Regions from separate parts of the Homo sapiens genome. Here regions 2, 3, 4, 5, 6 and 7 are each linked to region 1. Evidence: promoter capture Hi-C in 16 types of primary human blood cells and fetal thymus (Javierre and others, 2016). All regions are on one chromosome and are shown on one strand. Each heading gives the region's core, a stretch centred on a gene start or on the middle of the fragment in contact. The rest is flanking DNA. Distances are from core to core; before and after follow the strand shown.

Region 1 (3,398 bases), core at 439-2,938:
TCACCAAATTCACAATGCAGAGATGGTACATTTTCCGATTTGGGTCATCATAAGAGAGCTGCTCTTCCTCCTTTTCAATCTTCCTCATCAACTCCTCTGCTTCTTCATTTTGACTTGTCATAATATAGGAAACACAGAGATTAGCCAGTACAATAGCACTGACATTCAGGATGTTATCATAATGCTTCTTGACTATGGGTTCATAGAAACCAATGGCTTCTTTGTATTTGTTTTCCTGCATGAACAGAACATGAGCCACATTCAACTTCCACACATCATGGTCGTTACAGAATTCCACAGATTTGCGGAAGACCTTTTCCACCATTGGATAATTTTCAAGATTCCAGTAGATTTTTGCCTGAGCCATCAACACAGGAATGTATTTCTCCATGGTTTCATCATATTCATTCACTGCCTTTTTGATAGCTTCATCATCTCTGTTGTGTCTTGCTTCCTGTACTTGCTTGGTGAGTCTCCGAAGCTGCTCAGTCAGCATCCCTGCTAGCCCATCAAGCTTAATGAAAGCCTCTTCAGGAGCTGTCTGGCAAGTGATCAGGGCATCTAAGAAGTCATAGAGATAGGGTGTGAGGAACTTATACGTCAAATGGGCATTTTCTGCCAGGACATCTGCTGCCAGGTCAAAATACTCATATTTACAGTAGAGCAGCAACAGGTTGCCAAAAGTCTCTGGAGGAAAGGGATTCTGTTGGAGCAAAAACTGTAGCTTTTCAAACCCTTCTGTAGGCCTGGCATCCATGTTCATTAGTGCCTGGTTGTGCAGGGTCACAGGGTCCAACTCTTCCTCTGCCCTGGGTGGCATGTCGGTGAGGGTTTCTTGAGCTACCTCATAGTTTCTCAGTTGGTATTCTATGGCTGCCTTAAGGTTGAAGGCTTCCACCAGAGCAGTCTGATGGAGAACTAAGGTGTTGCCAACACTGCGAACATCAAAGCCCTCGGTGGTCATGCCCACACCTAGCTCAGGATGCTGGCGGATGCCACGCTCAATAATCTCAGCGATATGCTTCAGTGCTGAGGCATACTGTCGGCTGCTGTAATAGGCCAAAGCCAGGTTGTAGGAAAGGTCAGGCTGGTAGCCCGAGGCCTGCAGTGTGGCAGAAAACTTGGAGCATGCAGCTTCATACTGTCCCTCCTTGTAGAGCAAACAACCCAGGTTGACCTGGCCATCGGTCTCATTGTCGCCTCCACTTTCTTCTCCCCCTTCCCCACTCAGCAGCTGCTCCACCAGGCTCCTGGACCCTGGCAGATCGCCCTCGCTATACTTGATGGCAGCTTGCAGGCGGAGGACCCGGCTGTGGTAGGCGGGGTTATCCAGGAGAAGGAAGGCGACCCGAGTGGCCTCCGGATAAAGGCAGGCCTTGTACAGGGCCTGGGCCTGGTACAGGCGGTACTGCTCCAGTTCCGGGTGCAGCTGGCCCAGCTGCTCATAGCACTCGGCCGCCAGCGCGAACTCCTGCAGGCGGTAGTAGCAGTAGCCTAGCAGCGACAGGCCGGCACGGCTCCTGGGGCTCCGCTGCAGTTCTCGGCCCAGCAGCTGCACCGCCTCGGCGTAGCGGGCATCGCGGATGAGCCGGTACACTAGCGCGGTAAACTCCCCGTCGGGGATCTGCGCGCCGCTCAGACCAGCCATAACCACCACGGCTGTTATGCGTGCGGTTACCACGGCAACAGGGCAACCGGGCAACCGGAAACGGAAGACGACGGGTTACTTTGCCACGGAAGGAATCTGTTAGGAATAAAAAGGGACCGTTCTCGTTAGTCTCTCAAGTTCGGTTTGATCTTCAAATATTCTGGACTGCAGCGTGGCGGCAGTCAGAAGGGGAAAGACGACTACTCCGGGCCGTTCAGAGACTGAATCTTCCCGGTCCCGGCATGCATCGTTCCTGTGGCGCCGCTGCGCAGGCGTGGCCGCACTGCATGCTGGGAGGCGTAGTCCCTGTTGCACCGACCCGACTCGCGGCCCGTGTGGACGCACGGTCACTCGCCTTCCCTGCCCCCTAAAGATGAGGGGCACTCTCTGTGTCTGTTGTGCCACCTCGGTCTCTAGCGAATCGGAGGAAGATTTCCGGCACCATGTTCTGGCGATTTTGAGCCTTGTGCATTGGTGTGGTCTATACTAATGCTGGCGTTTGGCTTACTTTTAATAAAGTAGAGATCGTCAGTACAATAAAAGGACCTTTTAATAAAAGGAGCGGGATGGCAAAAGGGAGTTAACTCCTTGAATTCCCTTGGAATTAGAGCAGGTTCTTATGCTACCCCGAGGGCACAGTTTGTAAGAACAGAATACAGCAGCAAACAGAAATCCTTCTTATTTTGGTGGTTTCCAGAGGTTAATAAGGAAAAAGTGCTGTGAATCTTAATTGGTACTGGGAGAGGATCTGTTTTTGATCGCAGTATCTCTCCTTTTCCATGACAAAAAAAAAATTACTGAGTATATGTTGGCGTTTACACTTGGTTGTATCCATTGCTGTGGTCCTCCAACTGTCTCTGCCAATAAGAAATCAGTATCTTTTGTCATCTCCCATGATATCCATTGGTCTCTCTAGCACCTAATATAAACCTAATCCAAGTAAAAGTGTGTTGTTTGCTACATAATTACTGCAAATCCTTTGTATGCATCCATAATAGTGTTACTGCCCATAAATCTTTTCTGTATATAAACTTCACAGCTATCATACGGTTGATAACGATGTCAACCATATCATATAGCACCTCTATTAGAGACTGTTTACATATAGTATTTCTAATTTGAATAAGCAGCCTGCATTCTGCATATTGTAGTTTAAGAAGTCTGTGGGCTAGAAAGGTTTAAAGATTTAAGTATTACATTAATTAAATCAAACTATTAAATTAATAGTTTGTTTAAAGCCACATCTAGGTAGGTAGGGGCTGAACCATGATATCCAATAACCAATTTCAATAGGAAATAGTGACTGATGAATAACCCAATCCATGTATCTCATGTACGTGAGTTTGTAAGGGCCCATTGTTTGGTGCTAAGTGTGTATAAGGAATATTATTGTCTTTGTTTCTCCATTAAAACAATGAACTAACTTTGTGTAGTTAGTAAACTTTGAACTTCTAGGCCTTGATTCCAGCTGTGAGCAGATGTGACTACTGGAGTTGTGTAGTTCGTATTTACCCAGTATCACTGGAAGGAGATTTTTAGTAGGTGTGTGATTGCTCATATCATCATATGACTGACTTTATGTACTTACTCAGTCTTCTCCCTTGCCAGGAATTGGCAGAGTTGGGTCTTTTTGGCTGGAACTAGACAAGGAGCTTCCCAGTGCATCAATTCCAAGAAAGGGAAACTGCACCCATTTCAGGATTGAATGGGACTTTGGCTCACCTAAGACCCCACAGAAAGCAACTGTGGA
Region 2 (3,398 bases), core at 235-2,734, 480 kb before region 1:
TGATGCAAAACAGTATGTATGTTTATTATACACATTTTACACACACACATCCACATACACCAACGTGCATGTGTAAACCAAACTGCTAACAATGCTAGTCTCTAGTTAGGGGAATTACAGGTGGTTTTTATCATTTTGCTATCTATCATGTCCAATTTTATTACAATGAAGCTTAATGGTGTATTACAAATCAATAAAAGGGGAATACTTGTCCATGGTGACCAAATAAAGCTTGCATCATGCCATGATCAGTGCTGCACTATGCAGAAGCTAATGCTGACATGTGATAGACGATGACCAGGATGCATGACTTGCCCACTTCTTTTCTGATAGCCCCAGCTCTGATTTGTTTCCATTTGACAACACTGAATGAGTGGTACAAAATTATTGTCCCTACCTTTGTGTAATATTCAGAGAACTGAGTAGATGCCTAGAGATTCAAAAAAGGACCAAAATAACCAGAACTCTTGAGAGCGTACCTAATTACACAATCATTAATAATCAATATAGCTTCACAAAGAACTTGTCCTATGTAGATAATAGACAGTCATCCTATTACATAGCAGAGTGGAAGGCCTGATGGATCACAGAAAATTAACTGATGAACCCTAAGCTGGACTTTAGGAAGGCTTTTGATTCTCTCCTACAAGGCATGCTAGGAAAATAGACCAGGAACAGACAACTGTTGATTCATTAACTATAGATTGGCTGGGGAGTTCTAACTAAAGCATTCAAATTGAGGAGACGACAAATGGTGTTTTTGATATCAACCCGAATAACAGACAGAAGAGGCCAAAAAATGAAATTTAGAAGGTAAAATAACAATTTAAGATAAAATTGTACAAATAAGAAACAAAATGTAGATTAAACGTAGTATGGAAAAATGTGTTCAAAGTACACACCTGAATTACAGGAGCTAATTAGAAATTGTTTGCATAGAAATATGACTGTCAGTAGGCATTGCTGTAGCAGTTTAAAATACTGTTTTGACAATGAATACCGAATTAGGACTGACAGACAAATGCATGTTGTCTACACCCATGTTAGCACTTAACATGTTGTATTGCCATTACTTGTTGGCAAATCTTTCTCTCCCTCAAGGTTTTTGTTAAATCTTACTGTATTCCCAGCACCTAGCAGAGTCTGGCAGAGAGAGGATTTTTCAATACATCCTCAGGAATAAATGAGATCATCTCCCATCTTCCTCAGATACCTTAATAAAGCACTAAACTCCCCTCAGAGTGCTATATTTAAAGATGGATATGAATAATTTGCTGAGCATTCAGAGGAGAACTTAAAAAGGTGGGGAGTTGATAAATGAGAATTGGATTTTTCCGTTTATAGAAGAGAAAGCTGGGGGGTAAATTAGTTACAATTTTCTTTTTGAAGAAATCTTACGCAAAAGACATCTTTTTCTATTAAAAATGTCCAAAAGTGTCTGGGTTAGAAGCCCAGATTAGGGAAATGGACCATTAAATATTGGAATGGATAACAACAGAAAAAAAAAAAAAACCTCAACTAAAATATATTTTACTAAATGCTTTCACAAAAGAGCTAGCTCCTGAGCTCCAATGAAGACTCACGTATAAGCCGCTGTGAATTAAGAAGCTGGCCTTTCAACCAAGCCCCTTACGTAAGAGCCAAGACTCCACAATTTCATGATAAATGAGTAACCAGCCATCATCAGAGAGTTTGCACAATTAAACTGACAATTCAAAACTCAATTTTATTTTCATGATATTTATGTTCAAGTTATCATAGAAGTCTGTATCAACAGAATATAAAATATACTATTGATGTATAGAAATTAGATTTCTGGAAAATCCCATACTTATTTCTTCATGTATATTTGCATAGATTTCTATTTTTTTATTAGCTGGTTATTTCTTAATTGAGAGTGTTCTAAATAAAACCTGATATTAAATACAATATAATTATTTCAGTTCCAAAATACATCCAGTATACCCAGTAAATATGGCTTTAGTAAGAAATTGTGAGAAAAGAATCCCACTCTAATTGATTCTCACCTATGTATCAAATATTATTTTGTTCTATTCTTCAATCATTATTTTTTCTTTTTTTTTTAGCTGGGCAGCTCCCTAAACCAGAATAGGTTCAGAGCAACTCCTGGTCATCATTTTTTATTTGCAATATAAAAACTGTTATATATTATATTAATTATAATTTATAATTATAAATTATAATATAATATATTAACTGTTCTAATAACCCATTTGTCACTATAAATAGCCTTTGAGTTTTTCTTCCATTCCAAAAAGGAGTAAAAGGTCCCCCAAACCAATTGATTTAACACCAAATTTAAATAAACCCAAAGACCCTCTCACTTTTCACATTGAGTAGAACAAGGTCAGACTGGGCATCTTCCAAATGTAAAGGCTTAATTGGACTAATTCTTTCATGATAATAATGTATATTTAAGATAGCCACTAAAAATTGTCAATGCTAATTTAGTAGATCAATTCCATTAAATGCTTTGAACTTTTCACCACTTGCTAATCTCATCTATTACAGCTGCTGTTTTTGTTGAAAATCTAAGCTATAACTTAATATCAAATTACAACATTTCTAGGCAGACCTAAAAAATACTTTCTTATATGTGAAATATAACCTAAAAAGACTGTAAGTTGTGTAAATTGTAAGATTCTAGCCATAAAATTTCCTGCAGTCAAAATGCAGAAAGATCTTATCAATCTATTGGCAATTGACATTATGGTAAGAAGCTTATGGGTTTTTTTTTAACATCTTAGAAATAAATGTTTTATTGTATCTAAAATAAAGCTTTAACATTTGTGATTATTGATTGTAGACCCACCTTTATACACTAAATGGTTCAGACTGTAACATCAAACATAATGTAATTTAGGTAATACTTCAACTCACGTCAGTAGAAATGCCAAGGTTGTGCTCAACATTTAGGTGAACAATGTAAGGAATATGCTCATTAATGTAAAAAATAATATATTTGTTATTTAGCTAATGAAGAATTTTGAGACCCCAAACCACTATCGAATATCCAGCATGCCTTATTTGTCTGGAACTAGACTTCTGAGGCTATTTTTATTCCCTGTGATTTACCACCAGTATCCTCTGGGTGATAGTTGAGGAAACAGATGCTGGGAATCTCTCTGCTCAGTTCCTGAGAGGAGAGTTCTGACTCACAGCCTTGCCAGCTCCCTGCTTTGTACTCACATAAGCAAAGGGTGGTGAAGTAAAACGTAAATGACTGCCTGATTTCCAGTCTCTCATTGCCAGTTTCCTCAAAGTTTCCACTTACGCATTTGCCTCCCTTACCAATTTCGTTTGAAGTTCCTTTTCCAAAATCCTGAACGGCATGTTCCCAGGATACATTTACTTTTTCAAAAAAATTCATTCAGTGG
Region 3 (3,398 bases), core at 334-2,833, 410 kb before region 1:
GATTCTCCTGCTTCAGCCTCCCAAGTAGCTGGGACTACAGGTGTGTGCCATCACACCCAGCTAATTTTTGTATTTTTAGTAAAGACAGGGTTTCACTATGTTGGCCAGGCTGGTCTCAAACTCCTGACCTCAAGTGATCCTCTCGCCTCGGCCTCCCAAAGTGCTGCGATTACAGGTATGAGCCACTGCGCCCAGCCCAGAGTGTTATTTAAATTTCGCACATTAAATATCTCTTGAGCATTACTAGACTCACAACAATATGAAAGCATTAGTCCTTGCTTCCACAAGAAAGGAGATTTCCTAACTGTCGCTCAGGTAATTTAATCTCTACATTCTACCTTGTTTACAGCCATATAGCTGTAAGATTGCAGCCTGGGCCAGAGATCTGTACAGCAGAATTGGAAGGAGCTATCATGGTGTGACTTGCTGAAAGAGTTTCTGTCCAAAATCAAATTCTTCCACTGACTTGCTTCACTGACTCTTATTCCCACCATTTGAAAATGTTTGCTTTGGGTTAAGGTATTATTGTCACAAGAAATTTTCTTAAGACATAGATCTCCCAGGGAGAGCTAAGATTCTGGGATTCATTTGTTAATGTGAACTCAGCAGGACACAAACGAACAAGGCACAGAACAGCTCAGTTTCTGTGTGTGGAGGGTCCCGTGGATCTGTTTTCTTGCTCACATCTCAGTCAGAAGTCTCATGTCACTACATACTAACATATTTTCCTCATTTAATATCCGATATTGCTACTGATGAGTATTTCCCTTTAATGAATTACATTTGGGTTACAGTTATCTTCACCATTCCTACACAGATAAGCAGGCCTTAATTTACAAATGAGCCAAACATTCATACAGTAATTTTGGTCTCTCACTGCCAATTAATTACAGAAAACAATGGAGCTTTTTTGTAAATCTGGGGCTTAAATGTGAAGGAAGAAAAGACTCCCAGGTCGAGATGTGCCTACGATGGCTGACTCCAAGGACAATCTTGCTGGCAGTGATAGCCTACCTATTTAGAGGCCACTCTGTCCCTTTCCTCATCCCCAAATCTCTTCCAAATGTTGCCTAAATTCCACCATATAGAGTTTGTTTTGATTAATAAAATTCATATGCACCTGACAGAGAACTCAAAAGGACATAGAGGCCAAATTTGGGGCAATTTAAATATCAAAAGGAATAATGACTGCAATTGATTATAAAACAGTGAATAAATAAAAACCCATGAATCTATAGTGATACTCAAAGAGAGAGAGAGAAAAAAGATAATTTGCCACCTTTGAAGGTGACTGTTATACTAACTTCTTATTCTGAAAATTGGTAATTAAAGTACCTACCCTGTCTTTTAAGGAGGAATTGTAGTTCATTCCCAGTTGGTGAAGAGACATTTTGTGTGTGTGTGTGTGTGTGTGTGTGTGTGTGTGTGTGTGTGTTTACAAATGCTAGCTAATAAATGTAGAAGAAATGATATAATTAGAAAAGTCATCATTCTGTCATCCCCAATGAAATAATAATTCAGTCAAGGGTGATCAAAAATGCTAACACATAATGGGAAAGGTTGTTTTGGGGTCCAATATTTGCATGGGACCAAAGTACCACCTCAGAGATGACCTTCTCATTACAAAGGAGGGTTTTACCACTTTGATGAAATTTAACATCACAAATAGCGGGACAATCTGATATTGTGTGCCGCGTAATGTGACACAACAATCTAAACTACACATCATCACCTCTGATATACTCTTGCTCAACCTGATTAATTTGAAGTTAATAAGAGTTTGGATTTAACCTTCCAATTTATAGGAAATGAAGGAGACAGAGAATCTAGTTAAATCGCACCTGCAGAAAACAATCAAATAAACCCAAAATGTAAAGCATCCTACAAATTCATTTGTCCTGATCTCTTCAAAAGGTCAATTTTATGGGGAAAAAAGTGGAGGTGTGACACCTTTCCTTACCCATTGTAAGGGTCATGGCCAACACTCTTATAACAGAAGACAAGTTAGTAAGAGAAAAGTGTAACTAATTAATTTAATCAAAGTTTTATGTGAAAGTCATTTGTAAAGCACCTACTAAAAAGATTTCAGCCTTTTCAGACTTCCAAATTGGGATTTGTCTGAAAGAGAACGTAAGTCCCTGTGAATGACTCCTTAATACTTTTTGTATCAAATTACCTCCTCAATCTCTAAATCATTCAACTGTGGTGTGTGTGTGTGTGTGTGTGTGTGTGTGTGTGTGTGTGTGTGTGTGTTGGGAGAAGGAAGTGATATATCTTGTCATCTTAACAAATACACTAATCAGGCCTAACCTCTTCTTTAGCTTCCTAGGAGGCATGTACAAATCCCCTGAGAGTTCTCACGCACTTACACCACCTCATACTTTTCCCAGGGAAAGTGGCCACTCGTAGGAGAACAATGGGTGCATTTCACAAAGTTTCTCAGGAAGTTCTATACCTCAGTGTGACAAAACCTTATGGAAACAAGAGGAGAGAGAAAACGAAAAAGGGAAGGATCCAGAAGGAAGCAGTGATGAACTAAAGGGAAAAACCAATGTCCTTAATAAAGACAAAAAAGGAAAACATCAAAAAGAAGCAACAGGGCCGGGTGTGGTGGCTCACACCTGTAATTCCTGCACTTTGGCAGGCTGAGGCAGGTGGATCACCTGAGGTCAGGAGTTTTGAGACTAGCCTGGCCAACATGATGAAATCTTGTCTCTACTAAAAATACAAAAAATTAGCTGGGCATGGTGGCGTGTGCCTGTAATCCCAGCTACTCAGGAGGCTGAGGCAGGAGAATCACTTGAACCTGGGAGGCGGAGGTTGCAGTGAGCCGAGATCGCGCCACTGCAATCCAGCCTGGGCAACGAGAGCAAAACTCCAACTCAAAAAATAACAAATAAAAATATATAAAAATTAGCCAGGTGTGGTGGTACATGCCTGTAATCCCAGCTACTTGGGATGCCAAGGCAGAAGAATCGCTTGAATCCAGTAGGCAGAGGTTGCAGTGAGCCAAGATCGTGCCACTGCACTCCAGCGTGGGCAACAGAGCAAGACTCTGTCTCAAAAAAAAAAAAAAAAAAAAAGGATGAACAGGCAGTAATGTTGATCCCTAGGTCAGGAAGGATTAACATTTAAGAATAGGGATATTAATTTGACAGATAATCATTTGTGACCTTGGAAAAACAATTTCGATAGCCTGTGGCAGAAACTAGGAACACTTAAGAAATGAGTGGCAGCCTGTGACAGAAACTAGATTAGGAACACTTTAGAAATGAGTGCTGACAAGAAAGTGGAAGTAAATACAAGATGGCAAGTGAATAAATTTCTGAAAAGAGACCAGGTACCTGCTCTAGACAGGGCACTGTACTGGGCACTGTGCAGACTTCACGGGCATATGA
Region 4 (3,398 bases), core at 264-2,763, 350 kb before region 1:
TAGTTGTTGTAAGGTTCTAAAGATCCTTTCTCTTCCAATTTACTGCTATATTTGCAACGTTTAACTCAGCAGAACAGGAATTACCAAAGACAAAATTTTATGAATAGAGATTAAGAACTGCAGCCTCTCAGTAACAGGCAAAGTAGCCCAAACGTAACATCGCTTTGTGGGGAAAATAAAATACAGAAAAACATTATGCCTAGAGCTATGTCTTCAAGGACAGTTCTCAAATATTAATAATGGGAGTAGAATATCAGATAATTTTCATTTCCATCTTTGTATTTTTCTGTATTATTCAAATCCTTACAGAAAGCATTTTTAGAATTAAGGGATAAAAACAATTAAACTATTTCCACTTTGAACAAACAAAAAGCAGACTACAACGAATGGAAGAGCAGAGCATCCTCATAAACAGACCTTACAGATAATCTATAACATTCTTGGAGGCTGGAAAATAAAAAAGGGAAATGAGATTTGCCAACATAATTGTCTCCTGACACTTTCTATTCCATGGACTCTCATTTTGCCCTTTGAGTAATATTAGAATTAAAAAAAAACCTTAGACGTCTTCTGGCCCGGAGATGGGAAGCAAATTTCACTTTGATTGCCAATTCTGATACATTGGTAGTGGCTGCCTACAGTGCTTTGCTGAAAAGTATTCAAAAACAGCTTCCCAATTTGGTAGAAAAAGTTCAATGATTGATTAACAATGTCTGCCATGGGCACAGAATTATGAGTGGTGGCACATATCAGGTATGTTTCTTCCTTGATATAGTCCAAATTCCTACTTTTACATTTGAGGAAACTGAAGAGTGAAGTGGTTACTAATGACCACAGAGGTAACTACTGGCAGAACCAGAAATAGAATAACATTTCCTGACTCATGGTATTATGTTCTTCGCATACAACAAATTGATTTGGAATTTTTTTTTTTGATACAGAGTCTCACTCTGTTGCCCAGGCTGGAGTGCAGTGGCATGATCTCGGTTCACTGCAACCTCCACCTCCCAGGTTCAAGCGACACTCGTGCCTCAGCCCCCCAGTAGCTGGGATTACAGGCATGAACCACCATGCCAGTTAATTTTTGTATTTTTTAGTAGAGACGGGGTTTCACCATGTTGGCCAGGCTGGTCTCGAACTCCTGACCTCAGGTGATCCACCTGCCTCAGCCTCCCAAAGTGTTGGGATTACAGTCGTGAGCCATGGCGCCCGGCTGACTTGGACTTTTAAAGGCAAATCTAGTACTGGGCCAGACTTAAAGGATAAGGTGTAAATTTTATTGACATGTTGGCACATTATTTTTGGAGGGGATTAATAATCCAGTTTATTAATGATAATAATTATTGTACATATTTTATAAACACTCCCCACAAATCAGGGAGATGCAATTAGGCCCAATATTACAAAAATCAGAGGTGACAAAACAATTAAGTGACTGCCTCAAAGCTCAAGGAAATGATTATCTGACAATGGCCCAGGCTTCGTCTACTCTAGGTCAGGTCTCTGTAGAGTCTCTTGGCTTGTGCTGTATTTACTGAGAGTACTCACAGCAAAACTCCCTAAAGATTACATTTTTCCACATTCTGTTTAATGAATTCCCCAAGGACAAAATGATGAAGTATTTTTCACTAGAGAGAAAACTTGCAAACAAATAGGAGAACAGGATTTCTGCATTTAAGAACTTCAGTGTGAAGGGTAGGGAGAAAGTAAATGAGCTGTTTGCAACTTTAGCCTCTCTACGTACCAGCAGGTTTTTAATTTTTCTTATTTAATGAAAAGGTCTAAGAGCAAGAATCAAAATGTACTGAGAAGACTATAAGGTGTTAAAACCCTTTTGCTTCTTCCAATAAATTAAATTTCTCTAATTGTGTGATTCTAAAAAGCCTAATATGCAGGTAACTTTAATGTCAGTTTAGAGCTATCCCTCCTGTAAGATTCAGGTAACTTGTTCATCACGTTTTCTTTCTCCTGATGAAAGATGGAATATTTCAGTCTTTGGAGTTCGTAAACTTTCAAAAATTTGTAACGGTCAGTGTATTAATTCACTTGTCTTTTTCCCTGCTAACAGTTCTTGTATGCTTACTATGCATAATAACCCGAATTTTTAGATTCTTTATTTCTCTACAATATATTAGGGATATGGAAAGCAATAACAACACAACAAAAACAACAAGTATTTATTGAGTGCTAAATATGGCCCATGTACTTTATATGGGTTATATCATTTAATCCTCTCAGAAAATCCAAGACAGGTCCTTTACAGTCCCATTTTAGAAATGAGCAAACTGAGGCCTGGAGAGGTGAGATAATTTTATCTATGGTCAGGTGGTTAGTAAGTAGCTGAACAAATCACTGACTTTAAAGTTCTTAAGCATGAAGATATGCTGCCTCCCATGCATAGTTCAAAAAATCGTAAAGGTTCATTAGGGAATTTAGGTAGAAATGTTTTCTGAAATGTTTCACCAAAAACTATCCAAGCAATTTATGTTTCATTTAAAAAACAACAGTTGAATACTTAGTGAGAGAGTTTGAAGGAAGACTCAGTTGAGTTAAACATGGATTCTACTCTGAAGGTCCTTACAGTCCAGTAAAAAAACATCACACTTGCCCATAGCCAGGAAGTAGCTGATGATGCAAAAGAGGCAGGCAGTTAATGTAGCCAACCTGATAGCTGAGGTCAGGGGTTTCTCTTTTCATTTTCTGCAAAATTCACATAATATTTTAAAAATAGCTTTAATGAGGTCTAATTGATATAAAATAAATTACATATATATAAAGTACACAATTTGATAAGTACACACACACAATTGTAGTTATGATTTGTATTTTTCTGATGACTAAAGATGTTGACTATCTTGTCATGGCACTGAGGTTTTAATACATAATGTAATACTTTCTATACATTGACTGAGAGGAAGGTATGTACCCCTAAAATATGCTTTATTGTTAGAAACTTTGCTGGTTACATAATCAAAGAGGAGTTATGGTGAAACAATATTATTAACTATGGATAAAATGACACCAAAATTCCAGAAAATATAAAATATGCAACTCAACAAAAACTTGAGTTCTTACAAAAGGAAACTATAAAATACCAAGCTTTTACTTTCAACTGGTGCCTGAGAATTTCCTCTGCTACCACACGCTGGTGGACCTACTCATGTTTTCTGAACTGCATTGAGATGCAACAACTATTACCTGTTTCTTTCTTTTTCTTGACTGTTCTCCCCTAAATTCCTAGACGACACCATTAACAATTTAAATCAAATTGGTTAAAATATCTATTACCTAACCTAATAAGGTCACTGTAGTTTTTTTATTTTTTATTTTTAAAAAAGCTCTAAACACTGAATAAATAAATGTTTTGTGACAACACGGATTCATAAACTAGAGGGAGA
Region 5 (3,398 bases), core at 623-3,122, 320 kb before region 1:
CAGGTGTGAGATACCATGATCGGCCCTTGGCTGAGTACTTTAAACTGAAGGACTCTGGAAGGACCTCGGAATAAAGTGTTCTCTGACCCTCTTCTGCTCTCCTGTCTCTTGTCTCTTTTTCTTCTCTAAAACAAGGATAGAAATCAGAATTCCTCTATGCCAAGACAGGTCCTAGACACTAGGACCACTCTTCTGCAAAGCAAGCCATAAAACCTCTGGGTCATTCTTTCCCTTTTATCCTGGAGACTCTCATTCCAGAGGGGTCCTACCCATACTCAGGAGGAAGGAATGCTACATAAAGAGACCCAGAAGAACCTAAACAGAAAGGCAGGCCTTGCTGGGTTTCCTCCTCAGTCTATTACAGTAAGATCATACTCTCTTGTCCAGTCACATTTCTACATGGCTGTCCATTCTTCATCGAGCCTCAGCATAAAAACACAGTTTTCCTTGCATCTTTGGGTATTCATTTCTTTTTTTTGGGGGAGGGGGGCTATTCATTTCTAAAGGCTCCCATTTCATGTAAAACTTTGGTTAAATAAATTTGTTATGCTTTTCTCTTGTTAATCTGTCTTTTGTTATAGGAGTGTCAACTGTAACGCTTATGATGGATGAAGAAAGGTACTACACCTTTCTGCTCCTATAGCAGGAAAAAGTCTGTTTTGCTCACGACTTACTCTAGGCCTAGTACACCACAGTTCCTGGCACTCAGTAGGCAATTGATAGAATAGTTGAATTAAGTTGGGTCTCATGGTTAGATATATGTGGCTTATAGAATATTTTATTTTATTTTATTTTATTTTATTTTATTTTTTGAGACAGTCTCATTCTGTCGCCCAGGCTGGAGTGCAGTGGCGCTATCTTGGCTCACTGCAACCTCTGCCTCCTGGGTTCGAGCGATTCTCCTGCCTCAGCCTCCCTAGTAGCTGGGACTACAGGCGTGTGCCACCATGCCCAGCTAATTTTTTGTATTTTTAGCAGAGAGAGGGTTTCACCGTGTTAGCCAGGATGGTCTTGATCTCCTGACTTCGTGATCCACCTGACTCAGCCTCCCAAAGTGCTGGGATTACAGTCGTGAGCCACCACGCCCGGCTGTCAAAATATTTTAAATCAATACTGGCAAAACAGATCAGAAAATATGTGTAAACACGGGAAGTAGGGCTAGAATTGGGTCCTAGAAAATTCCTCAAGGGATTTATAACCTAATACAGATGAAGCCATCAGTGCAGGGAGGCATCTTGCAGCCTTAAATTTGGTTAGAACTTGAGATTTTTGTGGTTTGCTGTGCCAACCCACACTTTTTCCTTAGGCAAGTACTGGGTTTTTGCTCAAAGTCCAAAAGCAAAGGAAGAGAAAAAGGCAGATGGTGGGTAGTTGCAAAACTATAAACATGTTTTACTCCTGGAAATCTTACGGACAGGAGTAATTCTGGGAGTATGAAAGTAGCTTAGAAAGATTTTTGCTTCCTCTCACCCTCCAACCTAATTATGTGCTGCAAAGTATTCCTATAATACTTGGCAATATAAGGCTGGGCATAGTGCCTCACACTTGTAATCCCAGCACTTTGGAAGGCTGGGCAGGTGGATCACTTGAGGTCAGGAGTTCTAGACCATGGCCAACATGGTGAAACCCCATCTCTACTAAAATACAAAAATTAGCCAGGCGTGGTGGTACACACCTGTAGTCCCGCTACTCAGGAGGTTGAGGCAGGAGAATCACTTGAAACCGGAGGCAAAGGTTACAGTGAGCTGAGATTGTGCCACTGCACTCCAGCCTGGGCGACAGAGCGAGACTCTGTCTCAAAAACAAAACAACAACAACAACCACCACAACAACAACTTGGCAATATGTATCAAGAGTCTTAAAAATGGTCATATCTTTTGATCCAATACTTTTCCTTCTAAGAAAATATGTTAAGGAAATAACCAGAAATGTGAACAGAGGATTTTTAGAACAAAGGGGAAAAAAACCTTTGTACTCAATATGAAAAGTTGTTTTCTAAAAATTTTACTTAAGTAATTTTGCTCTAGATATAAGACAATTCTTATGTAATATTTAAAAATATGGCACAAAATTGTGTATATATAGATTACTCCTGAATAGAAGGATTACAGGTTGTTTTGATTTTACTCTATTGTAAGTAAAAATGTTAAAACCTTTGAAATGTAGTGGGTATCCTAATTAGTGCATCCATTCATTTCTACTTTCATTGTCTTTGACTAGTCTTTGATTAGACTATTTATAACTCTGTAGAGAAAGAGGTGAAGATGTAGAAAATTGACATTAATGCAAATGTTTCCTGTTATAACTGGAAATGATCCCTGTTCATGTCAATGCAAATAAATTTTGTCTGGCAGGTAATATAGATCTCTGTAAATCAAATCCATTTGAACCAGCTATAACACCTTACTGGTTTTCTCATTAATTAATGAGTTAAATAAAATCTTTGATGTGCTCATTTTATATTTATATATGACAGTCATAATGTTTCCTTATTTTGAAAACTGTTTTTTAACACTATATAGTTTCTATTTTCTAGATTTCCTATCATAAGGATGTACAGGTAATTTAGTAAACTTTTTAAGGATAACATGCATGCAGAAAAGTAGGTAAGTTTACAGTTCAATGAATTTTCACAAAATCAACACCTATGTAACCTATGTGAGTATGATCAAGGAAAAGAACAATATTACCACCCAAAAGTAGCTCTTGTGCCTTCCTCTTGGTCACTACTATCTCCACCATCCCAACAGGTAAACACCATCCTGACTTCCAACATCACTGATTTATTTTGTCTGATTTTCAATTTTATATAAATGGAATCATATAATGTGTTCTCATTTGTGCCTGGCTTACTTTGCTCACCATTATGTTTGTGAGATTCATACATGTGATTGCACAAAGTTTTAGTTCCTTCATTCTCCTTGTTATGTAGTGTCCGTTATATGAATAGGTCACAGGTGATCCACTCGCCTCAGCCTCCTAAGGTACTAGGATTACAGGCGTGAGCTACCATGCCTGGCCTGATTTTAATTTAAAAAAAAAATTTTTTGAAGACTTGTTTTGTGGCCTAACATATGGTCTATCCTCAAGAATGATCCATGTGCTGAGGAGAAGAATGTGTATTCTATAGCTGTTGGACGAAATGTTCTGTAAATATCTATTAGGTCTATTTGGTCTATAGTGCAGATTAAGTTGGATGTTTGTTGATTTTCTGTCTGGATGATCTGTCCAATGCTGAAAGTGTGGTGTTGGAGTCCCCAGTTATTATTGTATTGGGGTCTATCTCTCTCCTGAGCTCTAATAACATTTGCTTTTTTTATCTGGGTACTCCAGTGTTGAGTGCATATACAATTGTTATACCCTCTTGCTGAGTTGACCTCTTTATCATTATATAATAA
Region 6 (3,398 bases), core at 112-2,611, 280 kb before region 1:
GCATTTTTTCATCTGTGCTGCCATCTAGAGAGGAGAATTGGAAACACGCAAAAATAAAGTCCCAAGATGGAGTTCAGGGAAAGTGGATACTGTGTATTTATTTGTAGAAAACTGGAAGAAACATCATGAGATTTGGGACTATAAATTTATGTTTTTCTCTTCTCTCTCTCTGTCCCTCCAAGATCCAAAACAGGACTTGGATATCTGTTTCTCAGTTTTTGTGAGGACATTCCAGGCATTGCTGGGAAGCCATTTCCTGGATTCGAACTGACTCCTTACATACCTAAAATTCAATTGTATAAACTTTCTGGGACCTCTAAATTGTCAGAAAGTGGTCTCACTTTTCTACAGTTGAAACATTGCTGGAAATGCTCACATTCCCAGTTCTGTAGGATTTGGAAATAAAATGGCAGCTTTTTGTGTGTGAATTAACAAGAGAAAGAAGTCCTTTCAACACAGTGGAGCAGTTTCCTGAAGTCTGTGCCTTCCACAGAATCTACCAGATCTGCGGGATGTTTATAGGTGAAACGTTGGTCAAATGAATTTGGGGATTGCAAGGTAAAACAATGTTAAGCAGTTTTTATAGGCTTTAATTTACCAGTGTCCACTGCCAGCTTGCAAGAGAGGAAAATGCTGGGCAAGCTTTCCCAAACTTGTTTGACCTTGAAACCCTGGGCTTTTCATAGACCTGGTGTTGTGTGGCGCTTACATTCGGAGCTATTACAACAGGGAAAGGACATTAGCCTGCTGCATGCACACTACGCAGAAACACCAGTCCTCCCTGACCCCATCCTATTCCTTCTCTCTGTGTCTCAATATTTTTGAAGTTTTGTTTTGGTTTGAGTAGAGACTGGGGAATTTAACTACTTTTTTTCTCTAGCAGGATTGTAACAGGAGTAGGATCTGTTTGATACTTGCTACTCCCAGGTAAAACAAAGTAAGTTTACCTACAACATATGCCAAATTTTCTCTCTCAGCTTACATGTCAAACAGCACATAGTAAGATAGTCTTTTTACTCAGAACACATTTAGTGTGCTCTAATTCTGTGTAAGGTACCACTGGGAGGGGAGAACAGAGAGAAATAAAATATGATCCTTGACTTAGTCAAATCATTAAATAGATGGAGTGATAAGCTTATACACAGATTACTACAAGATCCCTTATACAGATAAATAATGGTCATACTAGATTTAGTCATCATAACTGAAATAATAGGGTTTAGTTTATGTGGAGCAAGGCCATGGAAACTATCCATGGAAAAAGAAACTAATAGCCTTACAGAAACTCTGTTATAGTGGCATCCATTGTTAGAGCATTTCACCTTATTTAAAAAAAAAAAGAAAAAGTCAATGGCAAAGAATATCTGTCTGTATTAATTCTGGAAAGTGACATTCTTGATGAAACTAAGTGAACAATATTAATAATGCTTCTCTTTAGATAATTTTTCTGCATTTTAGGAGATGGACCATATAATTCATAGTTTTGACTCAAAAAGTAATGTCTCTATTTAGGTATTAATAAGGATATGATCCCTTACAAGGGATACATATTATTTCCACTTCATGAAAACAACAGGGGCTCAGAGAATAAGCTTGTTTAATAGCTTGTAAAGGGCAGGCTTGGAATTCAAATCCAGTTCTGTCTGGCCCCAAATTGTTATTTTTGTTTCCCTTTTTGTGGGGCAGAGTAATTTTAGAAAATGTTTGCGTACTTTCTGATTTCTATAGCCTAAAAATATGATGCCAAAGAAAAATGAGGAAAACAGCTTTCCTGAGCTTTAGAGAATTACACATACACAAATAGGAGACTATAAGCTTTGTGAGAGCAGAAACCTCAAGGCCATATCTGTTCTCTTTGCCACACTAAGCACAGAGCTTAGCACATACCTGGCATATAGATCCTCATTAAAGATTTGCTCAATGAGGCACATATGAATGATAGTGTTTGAGATTAGGTGGTAGGCACTCATGAAAACTTTCAATATCTTCTTGTATTTTTTGCAAGATAGTCCACAGTTTTGAATCTGCAAAGGAGAAATAAGATTAAGGTTAATGCAGGCCATTTGAAAGTATGCCTTACCTCCTCATGAAATGGTCTGAATCTGATCAAGGGCAATTTTCACATTTGTGATTGTACTTTCCAGTTAAAACTCAATAATTAATTAATCATATTGTGAGTCAATTTGTGGATGATTGAGAACCTTCCCCTGCATAGTTGTTTGGTCATTCCCCAACAAATTCATTCCCTGAAAATGGCTAAAAAAATTAGGCTTGAAGTAAAACTAGATTTGAAGGCAACGACTAAATCTTCTTTATATCTGTATTCCTAGAACACATTCCTAGAATATATTGTGCTTTATAATAAGAGCACAATATATTTTGAACTAGGAAGGAAGAAAAAAGAAAGGGTAGCAAAAAGGAAGAAAAATGAGAGTTAGGAATCTTGGATTTAAGCCTTGGGTTGACAATGTGAATTTGGGCCAGTCATTTCTTCATTTTGTTTCTCAGTTTCCCTTTTTGGAAGCCAGAGGAGTTGACCTAGTTGACCACTAACACACCTCCAGATTCTAATTGCCTGTGGAAGAGAGACTGGGGTCATTCTTGGTATAAACATGCCCATGCTTCCTTTTTTCCACTAGGGGGCACTGTAGTACTAGCGCAGTGGCCTCCATCTTCCAATTTATTCAATTCTGTTGACAGTATTTTTCCTGTTTTAGTCCCCTGGAAAACATTCTTTACCTTTAACTTTCAAACTCAAATTTACACTACAAAGTATGAGATTTAATTTGGTAAGGAAAGCTGGATAAACATAGGAAGAATGTAGTTCAATGATTTATATTGCTTAAAAGAGAAATTAGAATCACAGAGCTATTTGCATAGTTAGGTTATAACACGTTAAGATTTTCTGTGGTCCAAAAGGGGGGCTTTGAAACTCTTTTAAAGGAAAACAAAGTGGAAAAAATTGTAATTACCAGAATAACAAAAACATAAACTTAATAAGTATGTCAAATCTATGTGAAGACAACTATAAAATTGCCAAGGCTTAAACAGAGATATACCATGTTCTTGGATAAGAACACTCGGCATTTAAAAATTTTTTAATTATTCCCCAAATATATTCATAAATATAATACAATTCCAATGGAAATGCCAATGGAATTTTTTTTGAAACTTTACAAAAGAGTTCTGAAGTTCCTTGAGAAAAGTTAAACTGAAAAGAGTCAAGAAAAAAAGACAACCATTTGAGAGGAAGGAGGATTTTAACTGCTAGATTTTTTAAAAAAGATAAAACAGCTGAAATTAAAACAGTAGCATAATGACAGCAAAATAAACAAACAAACCAATAAAACAGTGAGTCCAGAAACAAACCCAAGTATGGTGTCCTGGATGTGTTTGTG
Region 7 (3,398 bases), core at 240-2,739, 260 kb before region 1:
GGGACCACAGGCATGTGCCATGAAGGCTGGCTAATTTTTTTTTTTTTTTTTTTTTTGTAGAGACAGGGTTTCATCATGTTGCCCAGGCTGGTCTCAAACTGCTGTACTCAAGCGATCCATCCATCTCGGTCTCCCAAAGTGCTGGGATTACAGGTGTTAGCCACCATGTCCAGCCCATAACTTTTAATGATTCTATTGTCTCCACATAGCAATGAAGGTAGGTATGAGGAGGCTGGCCAGGGATCTTCTGCATATCTGCTCTTGCAAATGGTGGCCTCTGCAGCTAGTGGAGCTCACCAGGATTTGGGCTAGGAGTAATAGTTAACCAAGGCCCTGGAAATCACAACCATTCCAAAAGGGGCATGGACAATGGTTGGACTCCCTTAGTGTTTCAAACGGGGCAGAAATTAAGGGTCAATGGTAACATCTCATCATAAACTTCTTTATTTGAAACACTGATGGGAAGCTTTCTTTCATCTTTTCTGCTTTTTCTTTCCTTTTCTTTCTTTTTTTTTTTCTTAATAGAAACATATCAGAAAAGTCAGCAAGCATAATCCCAAGGAAGGATTTCTGACAAAGAGCCTTTAGATAAAAACATATTTATCAAAAAACAAATTTTTCAGTCAAGGGCCTTTAGACACTGTATCATTTTCTTTCCTTATAACAGATATTCAGACTACTTCTTGGAAGGGCCCCAAATGCCTTGCCTAAGAACAATGGACAAAAGTCGCAGTCTCCTAATTCCATTAGTCAGAAAACATTGTGGTTTCAGAAGTTTTTGCTTATAGGGCATTTTGTAGCGGTATCCTAGACAGGGGTTGACATGGAAACCTGTGTTTCTCCAATAGGGTTTCCATGGCAATTCTATAGATTTTCTCATTTGTTAATAGCAATAGCCTTGGTCTTGATAACTAATATAATAGACCTGAGATTAAAAAGGTGAATCACTCTACTTGGATGGGGTTCCCTTGTCAGGGTCAGAATAATATATTTGGCAACCAACCAGCCTCTGCACAGAATCATCTAGAACTGTGTTAACTAATATGATGTCCATTATCCACATATAGCTATTTAGATTTAAATTAATTAAAGCTAATAAAAATTAAAAATTCAGTTTCTGACTTTCAAGTGCCATTTTTCTAGTGCACATGGGGCTAGTGGTTACCCACTAGACAGCACAGTTATAGGACATTTCTATCATCATAGAAGTTCTGCTGGACAGCATTGATGTAGAAGAATCATTTATCTGTAAATGTATCACTCATTCAATTAGTAATTCATTTAAATTGAGATACCTTCCTTAAATTTTTTCAGTCTCACTATAAACCAGAAACAAAGCAAGGCCGGACATGGTTAATACCTGTAATCGCAGCACTTTGGGAGGCCAAGGCAGGCGGATCACTTGAGCTCAGGAGTTTGAGACCAGCCTGGGCAACATGGTGAAACACCATCACTACAAAAAATATAAAAATTAGCTGGGCATGGTGGCATATGTCTGTGGTCCTAACTACTCAGGCAGGATTGCTTGAGCTCAGGAGGCAGAGGTTGCAGAGAGCTGGTAACAGGCCACTGTGCTCTGGGCTCCAGCCTGGGCATCAGTGCAAGACCCTGTCGAAGGAAAAAAAAGAAAAGAAAAGAAAAGAGAGAAGAGAAAGCAAACAATCCCAGCACCCAATCCTTAAAAGGATTCTTGGCTATTACATTTCATTCAGGGCTTGTAGTAACTGGGGGTAGTGTTTTTGTAACTTGTTAAAAACTATGTTCAAATGTAGCTCCAAGTAGAGGGAGGAAGAGGTCCTTATTAGTGGTGTTTGGGGAAAGGCCCATATTAAAGACATAATCCTCATTGTTCCAGAATTTGAAAATACTCTTGGACAAAGGTTCCCCATATCTCGTATGAATTTAGGGAACCTAAGAAAGTCCTCTGTCTTACTCCCTAAATACATCTTCTCCACCTACTCATCGTGAAACATAAAATTCTCACATATAAGTGGGAGCTAAGTAGTGTGTGTACACATGAACTTAGAGTGTGGAATAGACAATGGAGACTCAGAAGGGTGGGAGGGGAGGGGAAGAAGGATGAGAAATTACGTAATGGGTACATTGTAACATTATTCCAGTGAGGGTTCCACTAAAAGTCCAGACCTCCCCAGGAGGTAGTGTATCCATGTTAGCAAAACTTCACTTGTACCCCTTAAATTTATACAAATAATTTTAAAATAATTTTATATAAATGGAAAACAATTCCCTCAATAGGGAGAAAAAACTTTTATTAGAAAATTAGATATAAAACTTTAACATAAATATCCTTGGGAGAAACACTTAGATATTTAGAAACACTTATGTATTTACTAAGCTGTAAATATCTACCACTTACCAATAGGTTTTCACAGACGGAAGAGAAAGTTCAAAGTTGCTGACTTTCTGGATTGAAATAGAACTGATTGGGGAGAGAAGGATCAAAAGGAGAAAGATTTGCAGTAAGGGTAGATTTTTACTGCCCAACTTTGCCAAAGCTTAGCCTTTGGTATTTAGGGACTATAAAGTGACAATTGGATTGACAGAACAACCATCTCTGGTTTCCATTTGCTTTGAAATTGGGGTCCCCCCAGACCCTGAACAAATTCACTAATTACTCTCAGCATGAGAATGATCAACACTGGTCTAGGCATTTGACTTTTGGTGACAATAAATTACAGAATTTCAGAGTCTGAGGAACTTTGGTAGCATTTTGTCCACTTCATTAGGCCAAGAATTTGAAAATTATCTTCTTCTAAACTTCAGGGTCTATTTCAGGGATATCATAAAATTTTACCTAAATTTTCATTTCTAAATTGCAAAACCTACTAGATTAGATTAGAAGCTTCCTGCCCATCATCCTTAGTCTCCAGCAAAGGGCAAAATACCTTATAATGTTTGTGCATCTGCTGAGCTGCAGTCTCCTATTTTAGAGATAAAGAAAATGAATCCTAGAAAAGGAAAATGTTTTTCCCAAGGTCATGGAGTGAAGTAACAGTAAGACAGTACTAGGACCAAGTCTTCTGTGTGTTCTTTCCACAGCACTGTGCTGATTTCTCACAACTGTTTTCTTTCTTCGAATACTTAGTTGTGGAGGCTGGTACAGCTTCCCACAGTTCAGTTGGGTGCAATTACTGTTTCTGTCTCTTTTATTTTAGTGTTTTTAATTCATTTACTGTCTAGCAGTGCTGAAAGCATCAAATGGGAGTACTTTCTTGTCCTAGGCAAAGATAGTGTAGCATTAAAGAAAAATTACTAGGAAGAAATACAGCAAAATATTATCAGCATATCTCTTGGGTAGTAGAATTACAATATAAATTCAGATCATATATTTAAATAATTTTAAAAGTAAAATTTTTTTAAATTTTAAATTTTTTAAT

The links. Contacts are between HindIII fragments. The CHiCAGO score rates a contact against its expected background, and 5 or more counts as called.
Region 2: a fragment that was not itself captured here is called in contact with the fragment with the promoter of IFT70A in region 1 in 1 of 17 cell types (neutrophils); the score reaches 5.7 in neutrophils.
Region 3: a fragment that was not itself captured here is called in contact with the fragment with the promoter of IFT70A in region 1 in 1 of 17 cell types (monocytes); the score reaches 6.6 in monocytes.
Region 4: a contact is called between a fragment that was not itself captured here and the fragment with the promoter of IFT70A in region 1, in 1 of 17 cell types (neutrophils). The highest score is 5.1, in neutrophils.
Region 5: a contact is called between a fragment that was not itself captured here and the fragment with the promoter of IFT70A in region 1, in 1 of 17 cell types (neutrophils). The highest score is 5.3, in neutrophils.
Region 6: a contact is called between a fragment that was not itself captured here and the fragment with the promoter of IFT70A in region 1, in 2 of 17 cell types (total B cells and fetal thymus). The highest score is 6.9, in total B cells.
Region 7: a fragment that was not itself captured here is called in contact with the fragment with the promoter of IFT70A in region 1 in 1 of 17 cell types (neutrophils); the score reaches 6.2 in neutrophils.

What each region holds. Positions count from the first base shown.
Region 1 is chr2:177,617,054-177,620,451 of GRCh38, forward strand. It overlaps IFT70A (intraflagellar transport 70A), which reads right to left and starts at 1,689. Exons shown (of 1, transcript NM_152275.4): 1 at 1-1,689. The coding sequence starts at 1,648. IFT70A-AS1 (IFT70A antisense RNA 1) reads left to right here. Exons shown (of 3, transcript NR_198966.1): 2 at 248-467; 3 at 1,235-2,185. RefSeq lists an enhancer at 1,762-1,991. The HindIII fragment of the contact is 8,599 bases long and covers 513-3,398 here.
Region 2 is chr2:177,140,428-177,143,825 of GRCh38, forward strand. All of the region lies in intron 1 of LOC105373760 (a long non-coding RNA gene), which reads right to left. Among named protein-coding and RNA genes, the nearest start is that of MIR4444-1, 71 kb to the right of the region's middle. The HindIII fragment of the contact is 2,510 bases long and covers 230-2,739 here.
Region 3 is chr2:177,204,017-177,207,414 of GRCh38, forward strand. No RefSeq gene overlaps it. Among named protein-coding and RNA genes, the nearest start is that of MIR4444-1, 7.0 kb to the right of the region's middle. RefSeq lists an enhancer at 173-1,135. The HindIII fragment of the contact is 6,068 bases long and covers 1-3,398 here.
Region 4 is chr2:177,269,870-177,273,267 of GRCh38, forward strand. No RefSeq gene overlaps it. Among named protein-coding and RNA genes, the nearest start is that of NFE2L2, 6.8 kb to the left of the region's middle. The HindIII fragment of the contact is 3,167 bases long and covers 1-3,097 here.
Region 5 is chr2:177,297,171-177,300,568 of GRCh38, forward strand. The region is part of intron 8 of LOC100130691 (Putative uncharacterized protein FLJ44553); the gene reads right to left. Among named protein-coding and RNA genes, the nearest start is that of MIR6512, 15 kb to the right of the region's middle. The HindIII fragment of the contact is 5,312 bases long and covers 1-3,398 here.
Region 6 is chr2:177,332,506-177,335,903 of GRCh38, forward strand. LOC100130691 (Putative uncharacterized protein FLJ44553) reads right to left here. Exons shown (of 9, transcript NR_026966.1): 3 at 1,888-2,024. Among named protein-coding and RNA genes, the nearest start is that of MIR6512, 20 kb to the left of the region's middle. The HindIII fragment of the contact is 458 bases long and covers 1,133-1,590 here.
Region 7 is chr2:177,355,327-177,358,724 of GRCh38, forward strand. The region is part of intron 1 of LOC100130691 (Putative uncharacterized protein FLJ44553); the gene reads right to left. Among named protein-coding and RNA genes, the nearest start is that of AGPS, 36 kb to the right of the region's middle. The HindIII fragment of the contact is 2,050 bases long and covers 465-2,514 here.